2 separate regions of the Homo sapiens genome follow, and region 2 is linked to region 1. The links are contacts of gene promoters, found by promoter capture Hi-C in human tissues and cell types (Jung and others, 2019). All regions are on one chromosome and are shown on one strand. The core of a region is centred on a gene start or on the middle of the fragment in contact, and the rest is flanking DNA. Distances in the headings are between cores, read along the strand shown. Region 1 holds the start of REPS1 (RALBP1 associated Eps domain containing 1). Region 2 overlaps REPS1 (RALBP1 associated Eps domain containing 1).

Region 1 (6,076 bases), core at 2,315-4,814:
TGTGTAGCTTACCTTTACTTAAATGTTTAATATTAGAAGTGTTTTGGTCTCGATTTAGAAATTTGGTGATTCTGTGACCAGAAATATGTCACAGCAACTTAACTCTTGTTTGTAGCAAATTATCAATTAGCCTATGATAAAATTGGTTTCGTGATACCGTAACCAAGTGCAGCCTTGGCTGTTTGCCCTTTGCAAACCCAATAACAAGGGGTGAAAGGAAAGTGACTTTATTTTTCAAAGCTAGCAGTGGGGAAACAGCCAGCTTACACCTCTGGAAACTGCTTCAAAAGTCTGGGCTGAAGGCAGAGGTTTCAAAAAGGGAACCTTGATATGGGAAACATGCAAGAGTTGTGCCGGGAGCCCGGGCTGTGTGTCTTGCTTCAACGCCTATCTTGAGTTATGGTCCATCTAAAATGCAGGCTGGCGTCATCTCGCCTGTGGCCAGGCTGCAGATTATCTATCTTGAGGCAATCTTTAAGTGGGGGACAATTCTGCAGCTGGGCCTTTGTGCCTAGTTCATTTTAAATTAGCCCCTGGAATTTTTAAGAAGCATACAGTTAGATAAATGTGCATTGGGTAAGGGAGTACATTGTGGGAAATAGAAGGGAGTGGAGTTTCAAAGTATGTTTCAAGGCTATATTTTAAGACTAAAGAGAAAAGGTTTCTACAGTTTGTTTCAAGGTTACAGCTTGAGACTGGCAAGAAAGGAGAAAAGAAAAAAGTTTTCTTTTGAAGCTAAACTACTTGGTTAGAATACCTTGTTTTGCTTAAAATTAGTTTCCACGGACCTATCCACAATAACATTAATTGAGGACTTACTGTATTGAATGGCTTATCACATCAATGTCAAAATTGATGCTTTCATTCATTCAACAAATTATTATTGATACACATTATGTGTCACATACTGGGCTTTGGCACTGTGGCAATGAAGAAATATTTTCCTTCTTTTCTTGCTTGCTTGCTTTCTTTCTCTCTCTCTTTCTTCTTCTTCTTCTTTTTTTTTTTTTTTTTGATACAGAGTCTCGTCCTGTCTCCCAGGTTGGAGTGCAGTGGCACAATCACTGCTCGCTGCAGCCTCTATCTCCTGGGCTCCAGTGATCCTCCCACCTCAGCCTCCCGAGTAGTTGGGACCACAGGTGCACACCATCATGCCTGGCTATTTTTGTATTTTTGGTGGAGATGGTGTTTCACCGTGTTACCCAGCCTGGTCTTGAACTCCTTAGCTCAAGCAATCCACCCACCTCAGCCTCCCAAAGTGCTGGGATTACAGGCATAAGCCACCATGCCTGGTGAAGAAATATTTTCTTAATAACAAACTTAACAAAGAAATTAGACAGGCAAGATAGGGTAGTGATTTTTAGAGTTGAGACAGCCTGGAGTTTGAATCCCAGATCCGGGTATTTAATAGCAACATGACTTACACAATACTTAACCCATTTTGCCTCAGTTTCCTAATCTGTCAAAAAAAAAAAAAAACCTAGTAGTACCACTTAATAGGGTTGTTGTGAATAATGTGGTTATTAGTGTAAAGCTTTAGAACAATGCCTGAAACTTAGTAATTATTCAATAATTAGCCGTTAAAAATGTAACAGCTATATATGTAATGTCAGATAGTGAAAAGTGTTATAAAGAAAAAGAATTCAGGTTGGGTGCAGTGGCTCATGCCTGTAATCCCAGCGCTTTGGGAGGCTGAGGTGGGTGAGCCCAAGAGTTTGAGACCAGCCTGGGTAACATGGCAAAACTCTGTCTCTACAAAAGCCACATACACAAAATTTAGGTGGGCATGGTGGCCTGGGCCTGTGGTCCCAGCTACCTGGGAGGCTGAGGTGGGAGAATCACCTGAGCCTGGGAGGTCGAAGCTACAGTGAGCCAAGATTATGCCACTGCACTCCAGCCTGGGTGACAGTGGGAGACTCTGTCTCAAAAGAGAAAAAAAAGGAATTCAGATAAGGGGATAGTGCATGGTGGGATTATTTTACAGCAGCTGTTGCAGGAAGGCTGCTCTGAGGAGGTGACATATGAGCAGGGACCTGAAACCATATGAGAGAATACGCCATGCCATGGTTTGTGGAAGGACTATTTTAGATGGCAGGAACAAAGGCCCTGGGGCCGACAAGAGCTGCAAGGCCTAGGAGAGGTGGCAGAGAAAAAGATGCAAAGACAATTGTGAGCCAATCCCTACCCCATTGTGCTCTTTCTGTTTACACCTTTGGAAGGCAGCTGTCTGGGGGGGGTCTGATCACTTGCTGCAGGTGCCCTGAAAGGACACATGAGGGGCTGCTGTAGCAAACTGAAAGTCTTAGAGATGGGAAATAAGCTTAATGGATAGTATATACTTACCTTTATCAAATACTACTAGTCAAGTCAGAAGACATTGACAGGTCTAAAATCCCTTATCTTTCTTAAAAAATAGAAAGATAATAGAATGCCTGTGACTGTGTACATATTAACATTCTACAAAGACCTGGAGTGAAATGAGTAAATATTGACACTAAGTGGGATCCATAAAGGCTAGAAATAGCTTCATGCAAGCTTAGTTTAGATTTTGCCTCCAAATGAGGCAGGGCAGGTTTTACTTCCAAAGGGTTACAAAAAAAAGTCTTTGGGTTTTCAGTGCGCTTTGAATTTTGCAATTACAGATAAATGACTGGGAACCTGTAATAATTTCCTCATATGTGTCATTTATAGGATCCGCACTCTGGGAAACAACTTGTAGAAGACAAAATAAAAACCAGAACTCTGGGTAATTCTGCCTTAGCTCCCGTCTTTGAAGTATTTTATATTTGCTAAGTATAAATTCTTAAGATATTCTACTTGAAATAGCTGAAGAATCCCCTCTCTGGGACAGGTGCAGATTAAAAGAGCGCCACTCCATGATTTTCATAAAGGAGAAAATACGGAAGGCAGCCCCTGTGGGCAGCCCCGGGCCTACATGAGTTGATAGAGTTGAAGGTATAAATGTAGAGTATTAAGTTCCCAGTGACCGGAATGACCTGGTGAACAAAGAGGACAACTTTGCCAGTTTTCCCCTCTATTCAGCACATTTTGTTTCTCAGGTAAACATGGCTTGAAGCACGAGTGAGATGAAGCCTCAATGTTGGTGTCTACGTGGAGGCTTCCCGGATAGCCAGGATGTTCATAGCCCGGATGTTCATAGCCCTTCAGAACAGATGGAAATACTGCATTTATCTTCATCTGTACCGAAAAGGTACAGATAGAATGATAATAACCTGAACAAGGCTCCCCTTTCAATCCAATTATTCAGACGCTTAGGACCAGAAACTGCGAAACATAAAAACTGCAACCCGGATCTTAGTTATCTCGGTCTTAATGAGCTGCCGGCTGTTTCCCACTGCACCCCCCTTTCCGGGGGTCTTGCTGCTGAGATCTCCGCGCAGAGGGCGGCTCGGTCATCCCGCCGCCGGGCGCCGGCCACCAGGGGGCGCTGCGGCCTCCTCCCTCTCCCGGGAGCGGCCAAGCCAGCCCGGTGGGTGTTTCTCTCTCCCTCTCGCGCTCTCTCCTCCCGGCCTCACATCCGGGTCTGGAGCGCGGCCGCCGCTGTCACTGTTGGTGCGGGCGCGTCGGGGCCGGGCCGGGGCACTGTAAATGGCGGCGGAGGGAGGCGGAGCGGCGGCCACGCTCAGCCCAGATCCCCCGAAACTTTAGGTTCGAAGCCCCACAACTTTCCGGGAAGCGCTGCCGCTCCGGAGGCGTGGACGGAAGGGGAAGCCGAGGCGGGAAGTCTGGGGGAATCGGCAGGGAGCCGGGGAGACTCGAACCCGCGGCGGGGGCGGAGTCCGCCAGTGCCTCGCGCCTCCGCGGCCCCCGCCTCTTTCTCTGCACCCTCCCCGCGGCCGGAGCCGGAGCCGGAGCCGGAGCCGTAGTCGCAGCCGCAGCCGCAGCCGCGCGCCGGGCCTCGCAGGCAGCGGCGCGGCGAGCGCAGCCGGGCCCCCTCCTCGCGACCTCCGGGCCCTGTTGCTCGGGCGCACCTGGCGCGTGTGAGGCCGGGGCCGGCGTTTTCGGGAAGCTAGCAGGAGGCCGGGCCACGCGCAGCCCCTGCCGGCCCAGGTTCCTGGGGCCGGGCCCCGAGTAGTGCATGCGGGGCGGGGCGGCCGTGAGCCGGAGGCGAAGATGGAAGGCTTAACGCTGAGCGATGCGGAGCAGAAATACTATTCAGATCTCTTCTCCTACTGCGACATTGAGAGCACCAAGAAGGTGGTGGTCAACGGGCGGGTGCTGGAGCTGTTCCGGGCCGCGCAGCTGCCGAACGACGTGGTCCTACAGGTAACGTCGCGTCCCGGGGCCGGCGGGCGGCTTAGGCCTGCAGTCACTGGCCTCCAGGAGTGGGAGTGGGCGCCGATTCCTTGGGGCCCGGCGGGGGGCTGGTTCCTCGGGGGGTCCCCGCAGCGGGCAGGGGCCGCAGGTGCCCGGGAGGCCTGGACTCGCGCCGCGGCCAAGGGGGAGGGGGTTGCCCTTAGAGGACGGAACTCCTGTGGTGGGGGTCTGAAGAGCCTCAGCCGGTATCCCCCACGACCCTGAGAATCTGTGCTCTGTACTGCAAGAGCTATCTCACTTGAAGGATCTTAGGTTGTTAATGTGTGTGAATCCTAGAACCTGGCATATAGAGAGCTTTTCGGATCCTGCAGAGTAGTAAAGTTATCAGTATGGGCAAAATGGTTTTTTTAATTCTTGGATTAACCGAGAAGACGTGATAAAGTGAGTTCTATAGATTTAGGAATCGAAGAAGCAGTTTTTTTAAAGGAAGCAAAATTCTTAGGGAAATTTTTTAAAATGTGAACTACTTAGTAGTTTTACAAGTAGGCATACAAGAAGTTGTAATTATCTGTAGAACGTGTGTATGTGATGAGACTGAACAATGTTTTTCAACAGGCATTCGAAAGCATTTGTGGAACTTGTGGATTTGGGTTGGGAGATGAGTATTGAACAGCTGGTAGGCAGAAGTGCGTTATTTGCCCTAATCTGAAGCCCTGGAGGAGCAAACCCTGTAGGTTTAAAGCCTTTTTTTATCATATCTGCTTTTGAAACAGAGGACTTCCTAGAAGTTCTTATCTAATGTATGTGGTGAGCATTAATGCTACTCTGTTTAATGATTCATAGCTGCTAGTAGGAGTCTGTCTAAACAGTATGTTAGGAACAGGTTTTAAGCTTTCATCTTTTATATTGATCCAAGCTAGTTATCCACATCTCCAAAATTTAAAGCCACATGTATAGGTGTATGTAGTGGACTGCAAAGCATTGGACCAGGGTTTTGAAGGCTGGGTCCTTGACCCTACTCTGCTGTTAACCAGCAGTGTGACTTTGGGTCAGGCACTTTCCATTTTCAAGCATAAGTATGTTCATCCACAGAATGAAGGCAAGTTTCTTCCAACAAAAATTCTGTGAAGAATAAAAATGTCCACACACAGGTCTCTGTTTTAGAAGTTAAGTCTGCATTAACTATGACTAAGTTGAACGAGTTCGATCTTTTTAAATGGTCTTGTGTTTTACATTGCTTTTTTAAAGGTGGGATGTCTTACGTGCCAGTGAAGGGCAACGAGGAGTCCCAAATTCATCCTGTTGAAAAGGGACAAATAGTAAATATTTTGGGCTTTGCTGGCCACATATGCTCTCTGTTGCATATTCTTCTTCTTGTGTTTACAAAACACAAAAATGTAAAGCCATTCTTAGCTCAGGGAGATACAAAACAAAGCCTGTGGTCTGCTAACGAAGGGTGCTGGTAGTGTGGTCTATGGTACTCTCCTGTTACAGCTTTGGAGTAGGACTTAGAGATCTGGTCAGAACATGCTCATTAATCATACTCTTTTTGCTCCTTTTGAAGAAATAACAAAGTATACCTTCAAGTTAGGATCTAAATAAAATTAAGGAAAAGCCTTCTCTGTTCTATTTTAGTTTGTCTTTGAGGTGAGAAAGAGTTGAAATAAAACTTTCAATCTTTTTAATGGGTACACAAAGACTTTAGAACTTGAAATGTAATTTTTAGGACAGACACATTAGCATTAATGAATCTTTACTTCAAACATGTTTAATTCAGTGCAAGTTATTTTTATGTTTT
Region 2 (6,076 bases), core at 2,168-4,667, 64 kb after region 1:
GAGAGTCCCTTTGTCCTCCAGGTAACTTACATGCAGTCTTGTGAAACAAAGTTAAACTTCATGCCACCCAAATGAGGTACACAAGTAAATACCTTCTTTTTGGCAAAAATCTTCTGTAAACTTTTCTCCACAGTTAGTTAATTAGGATTTTAAAACTTCCTTCTGTGTCCCTGTAACAATAATTATTGAGGAAAAAACTAATTATATTAACAGATATTGATAAGTAACTTTCCTGAAGTGATGCCGCATGATAAAAGTAATTATTGTGGGATTCTTAATTCATGAAATACTTTGGATCAGTATTTCTCAGAATATCTTAATTTTCATATGAAAACTAATCTGTAGGAAAAGTCGTTGAATTATTGTATTAGCCGTTTTTGTAGGTAATTTTCACCAGTGTGCTCATTTGCTAATATTTAATTTTTACATATCTTCTCAACTTAAATGTCACTATTTTAAATAGTAAGTTGAACTTTGAAGCATAAAAATGTATACTTTCCCAAAGAGGATTTTGGTTTATGGGGTAGTTTTGTCTTTGTGTAAATATTCGTGTGTATACATTGTATGTGTGTAGATGTTTTTTCCTCTTTAGAGGATAACTGATAATTCTTAAGAATCAGATTTAAATGATAATTTTAATGCAATTTTAATGTAAAAATTCTATACCATTTTATTACTAAGATCTCCAAAACAAATGGAATTTACTGTAATTAATATTGACTTATCACTCCACCTGTTTTAAGAGGTATGATTTTTTTTGTGTACCTCTTTTAGAAGAGTAGTATTTCATATCAAAATACATCTGTATATAACTCATGCTCAGATGCTTGATTTGCTCTCATTGTGGCCGCATTCTGATTTTTCTAGCATGGGGTAGGGAGTGGGGAAGCGGGGGTGTCTGATTGGCAGTTCTGTCTTGTGGTCTGGCATGGCCCTGTTTGTAGTGCTGATTGCAGGGGTTGACTTGCTACAGATTGACATAAGCTCTACATATATTAATTCCAGAATTCTTTGCATTTTATCTCAATTATATTTTATTAAATATCTATACATATGTGTAAAATATGTGCACGTACATAATAGAATCATCTTTCAGGGGTCGCACTGGCAAGTCGCACTGACTTGCTTTGTTTTGAACAAAACTTTGATTCATTAGGATCACAAAATCAGTACATTAACATTTGAATGTTCAAAGAAGAATTTGATGTTATTCTTTCTTTCTTTAGTCAAGGCATGCCTCTTTAGCATTTTTACTTGGTGGACATTTATATCACTTAGACTTTGCTCCTGTATTGTGTTTTATTTTAACTCTGTAAGGCTTTAAATCTCTTCCATAGAGATTGCAATAAATCATTACTATACTTTTGATTGTGAACTCCTCACCTTACATTACAAGTGACCCAGAATAAATATAAAATGTTGACGGAAAAATAGAAATTACTGAATTTTGTTAAACCTATGAAACACAACTTGCAGTGCAACCTCTGAATTACTTTGCTAAATCTTCTCCAGTGATCTTTTACTCCATCTTTCTCATCATGCTGACTTGTCTCTCCTCTGTCTGTTCAGCAGTGGGAGACATTTAGTGAACGCTCTTCAAGCTCACAAACTCTGACCCAATTTGATTCTAACATTGCACCAGCTGATCCTGTAAGTCAATCACTTAGCTTGCTTGTTTGAGATTAATTTTATTAACCCAAATTTCCATTCATTATCGTTTTTAGCTGATATGCATGATTCAGTGGAGTGCTTAGAGGGAAGTGGCGGCAGGCTTTTTGGTTTTTGTGTGCTTAATGGTGGGAAAGACATTTTTTGCCATTCCTTTTTTCTAGTTATTTTGTTGAGAGAAAACTACGTTTTTAAAATCTGGTACATGTGTCTAGAGAAGCATTTTTTGTGACAATCTATTTTGTTAACCTTATCATTTGCTAATTAAGTGTATATTTTATATACATACTGTTTATTTCAGTGTAGTGACTCTTTATGTATTATCTGTATGCTTACACATCATGTAATATGTCCTACATATGTAACTATTTATGCAATGTCATCTTTTATTTTGACATGCCAAATGACATGGCTTTTATTTAATTAGTATGTTGAGTCCTGTTAGAGAGAATCAAGTTCAGCAATACAAGATGTTGGTCAAATATTCCGCTTATGCAAAGGAGCCTCTGTCTTGTCTTCTTGTGGCTTACTGTGTTGCTTTGAAAATGCTACAAAGTTCATATCCTGATTTAAAAAATAAATTCTGTCCCCATAGAGTTAATTTAATATATGCTACACCTGTCCCTTGGGTTTTTTGAAAACCTTAGCTGTTAATCGTTCTTCTCCCTGTTCACTTCTCTGCTTTTTCTTTTTCTTTCTCTCTCTGTCTTTTTTTTTTTTTTTAAGACAAGGATGTGCTAATAAGCACTTTCCAAAAAGAAAAGAGGGAGTAAGCAGAAAGTGAAGAAATGTGTAAAGGCAGAATTTTTAAAATGAGCTGAGTAGAAAGATATGGAGAAAATGACATAAGTCGTTCTTTCTAGATGATCTGATCAAAGACAGCCAGCATTTATTAATTAAATGTAAAAATGGTCTTGTCATCTAAAGAGATTTTGAAGAAGTGGCATTTAAAGATAAAGTATACCATTAGCAGTTAATGGGCCTTTGATGTGGTTTGTTTTTTGTTTTTGTTTTTTGAGTTGGAGCCTCTCTCTTTCGCCCAGGCTGGAGTGCAGTGGTGCGATCTCAGCTCACTGCAACCTCTGCCTCCTGGGTTCAACCGATTCTCCTACCTTAGCCTCCCGAGTAGCTGGGACTACAGGTGTCCGCCACCATGCCTGGCTAATTTGTGTGTGTGTGTGTGTGTGTGTGTATTTTTTAGTAGAGGCGGGGTTTCACCATGTTGGCCAGGCTGATCTTGAACTCCTGACCTCCAGTGATCCACCCACCTCGGCCTCCCAAAGTGCTGGGATTACAGGTGTGAGCCACCACACCTGGCCTGATGTCTTTTATCATTTTAAAGAATTTATATGAAATCTAGAGGCTGCTGTTACATTTATTGAATTCAAACAGATAATGTACAATTTTAAAATGTTTATTTTATTGTCTATTAAGTATTCAAGGACCAGTTGATATGTAGATTATCTCTGCCTTTTGCTCCTCATTTCTTGCTACATTTAAGGCATTTATTTTTTATTTTAGTCTCTGAAAAATGTAGGAGAAATACAAGGCAATGATTGAAAACTTTGCTGCTTATTGGCAGCTATAATTAAGATCTCTTAGGAATTGACAAGTTCTGTAAATTAGAAGTTTTATCTTTGTTTTCTTTTTAAGTTTAAAGTTTTGCCTTTAAGCTTTAAGTTTTGATTCTCTATATTATTCCTGTCTCATTATTGTACAGTTAAGCTAATATGAAAGTACTTAATGAAAGTATATGGGAAGGAAGGTTAGATGTAGCAATAAAGAAACTATTATATTCTCTAACCCTTAAAAAATAGTGACAATAATCACTCATAGTATTATGATTCTTTGTCAGGCCAGGCAAGAACATTATGTATAAAAATCTAGAACTCAGAAGCGAAATAAATTGACCTACGACTGACAGGAAATGTAGAGAAATAGTTGGTTGAGTAGCAGTGATATTATTGACATTTCTTGGAAATAATATTCAGATTTGCAGCTCTAGTGTCTAAAATTATGTGGCTCATTACTTTCCTTTGTTATCTCTAGTGTGTCAGGAGGCTCTAGGAAAATAGAGTGATTAATTTGCATTTTAAACTTGAATTTAGACCTCTGAATTGGATTTTAAAAAATTGTCATTCTTAAATATTTATGTTTATAATCTAATGCCTAGAAATATTTATTTTATGTTGGCAAACTTAAATCTGAACTTTGTTTCCCAACCAGTATTCTTACTTTAAATTTTCGGTTAGAAGAGTAGCCTGCTTTCTCTTAGTTGTGTCCTACAGTGTCTAAGTTTCTTAACCTTCATTTGATACTTACCTGAAGTATTACCCATCTACAGACCCACTACAGCCTGTAGCCACAATCCCACATGATCCTTTGCAAGGCTTTATATAAATAAGGATTATAAGTAAGTAAATAAGGCACATTCAGATTACAAGGGAATCACCTGGGGGGAAAAACTCTACTCTTCTATTATGAATTTAACATTTCTTACAGTATTGGAAATATTTAACAGACTATTAAAAAGAAACTAAATTGTAATAATTAGCCATTTGCTCAGTAAAAGTCAGTGCAAAGTTCCAAACTGGTCTGTAGCATTTAGAGACAACCACTACACAGTGCAGTGACCCCATTTGCAAACCAGATGGTTAGTTATTAAGCTTTCATAGTTCTGATGAAATTGAGATTCTGATGGTCTTGTTTCCAGAAACTTGATCTCTTTTCTTGAACTGCTTGTCAGTTAGTAGCCTTTGGTAGAATCTGCTTCTGCTAGGATATACATGAATGAAAACACAGGAAAATTGTAGGTGGATGAGAAGTGTAATGCGTTAGTCTTTGCTGTGATTGATTGCACTGCAAATATATGAAAATGCTAGTTAACATTCCCAGCTGTTCCAAGCTTTATAAATCTGATTTTATATACACATACACATACGTCGAATATAGATTAGATGAATGTTATGAATTAAAGCATCTAAGAAGTTTTTCTTTTTTAAAATTTCTAATTTGCTTTGTATTTGGAATAAGACTTATTTTCTCATGAACTATCATTTTTTTCTCCTTTGATCTTGCCTTATAAAGGTAAATTCTGATTTTCTTAACAGTTATTTCTGGTATTAAATGTAAATTAAGAAAATAGTAGAGTTGCTCCTAAAGCCATGTTTTTATAACCAACATATAACTTAATATCTTAAAGGTATTCTTATAAATACTTTCCTGAGAATGACTTATTATTATAAGACAAATCTAAACTTTCATCCATCTATAATGTTAATATTATTTGTAACTATAATTTTTGAGTTGTAGGGCAAATGTTAGGTTGATTGGTTAAGTACATGAACCCTGTCCAGATTCTCTGTGGTGTAGGGGCAAGAAATTACTTTGAATGAATTTGTTAGTATAATAGATGTAAAGAATTTGTTACAAGTTGTTTGAATTCAGAGATAAACATAAGGCAAGGAGATATGTCAGATAAGAGAGGGTATGCTGGAACTTCGCTTTCTCTAGCAAGGGCTTGGTGTTAGCACAGTACTGTCTCACCAAAACAGTTTCCAACTTAAACTGAAAGGCCATTATCCTCCACACTAAATTATAAACTTAATTCATGACTAGATATTCAAAATTTAGGATCTCAAATTCAGTCTTTAGCGGCCGCATATACAGAGTGTGAACTGACCCCTCATAGAAGGAGCTGGGCCCCCTTGGTGATGTTTCTCAGCTGGTCTATTGCTGTTAAGCCAGGTGCTTGATCTGGTTCTGGTTTCTGCCCTGGGAGTCTCAGTCCCTAAGATCAGGCCTACTGTGTCCTAGGTACACCTCTCTTTTTCTTCTTTTTCTGAGAGGCTACCATTGTCTTCATTCTCTCATCCTTTCTTTTGTGCTTTCATTCTAGTCAGAAGTCTTTATTATCAATTCCTTTAGTCCTCTAACTAGACTAGACTCTCATGAAGTTTAGAAATATCAACTGTATTACAGTAATGAAAAATGTTTAAGAAAAGTATTAGCTTCTTAGAATGGGAGTCTTGTTCCTCTTAAAAAAAATGGATTCCTTTGTGGCAGTTTCATGCTAAATTTTGAGACAATCAAATTTAAACACTTTGAATTAATCCGTAGGAAGTTTGTATTGTGCCTACTATTGCAATGTCATAGGCATCTCATTAACTTTGTTTTATAGGTTAAAGAAAGTGTCAAATTTTCTTGAGCAGTTTACTGAAAATGAGTTTTCAGTCTGTTACTTAGATTTTGGATTCTCATGAAATAGTTTATTTTAACTTCAAGGCTCACATTTGCATAATTTTATCAGATCATTCCTCACTTTTTAATATTGTCTTGAACTGTGTTTTTATAAGAGCATTTTTTAAATGTAAATCTCACACACACACACACACACACACACACACTT

Evidence for each region. The method cuts DNA at HindIII sites, captures the fragments that hold promoters and counts their contacts. A contact is called where the count stands out against the background at its distance.
Region 2: a contact is called between a fragment that was not itself captured here and the fragment with the promoter of REPS1 in region 1, in 1 of the 25 tissues and cell types used here (mesenchymal stem cells).

The regions. Positions count from the first base shown.
Region 1 is chr6:138,985,741-138,991,816 of GRCh38, reverse strand. REPS1 (RALBP1 associated Eps domain containing 1) reads left to right here and starts at 3,564. Exons shown (of 20, transcript NM_001286611.2): 1 at 3,564-4,287. The coding sequence starts at 4,135. RefSeq lists silencers at 3,333-3,572, 3,763-4,062. The HindIII fragment of the contact is 5,323 bases long and covers 1,928-6,076 here.
Region 2 is chr6:138,921,975-138,928,050 of GRCh38, reverse strand. It overlaps REPS1 (RALBP1 associated Eps domain containing 1), which reads left to right. Exons shown (of 20, transcript NM_001286611.2): 10 at 1,570-1,650. Among named protein-coding and RNA genes, the nearest start is that of REPS1, 63 kb to the left of the region's middle. The HindIII fragment of the contact is 4,532 bases long and covers 1,152-5,683 here.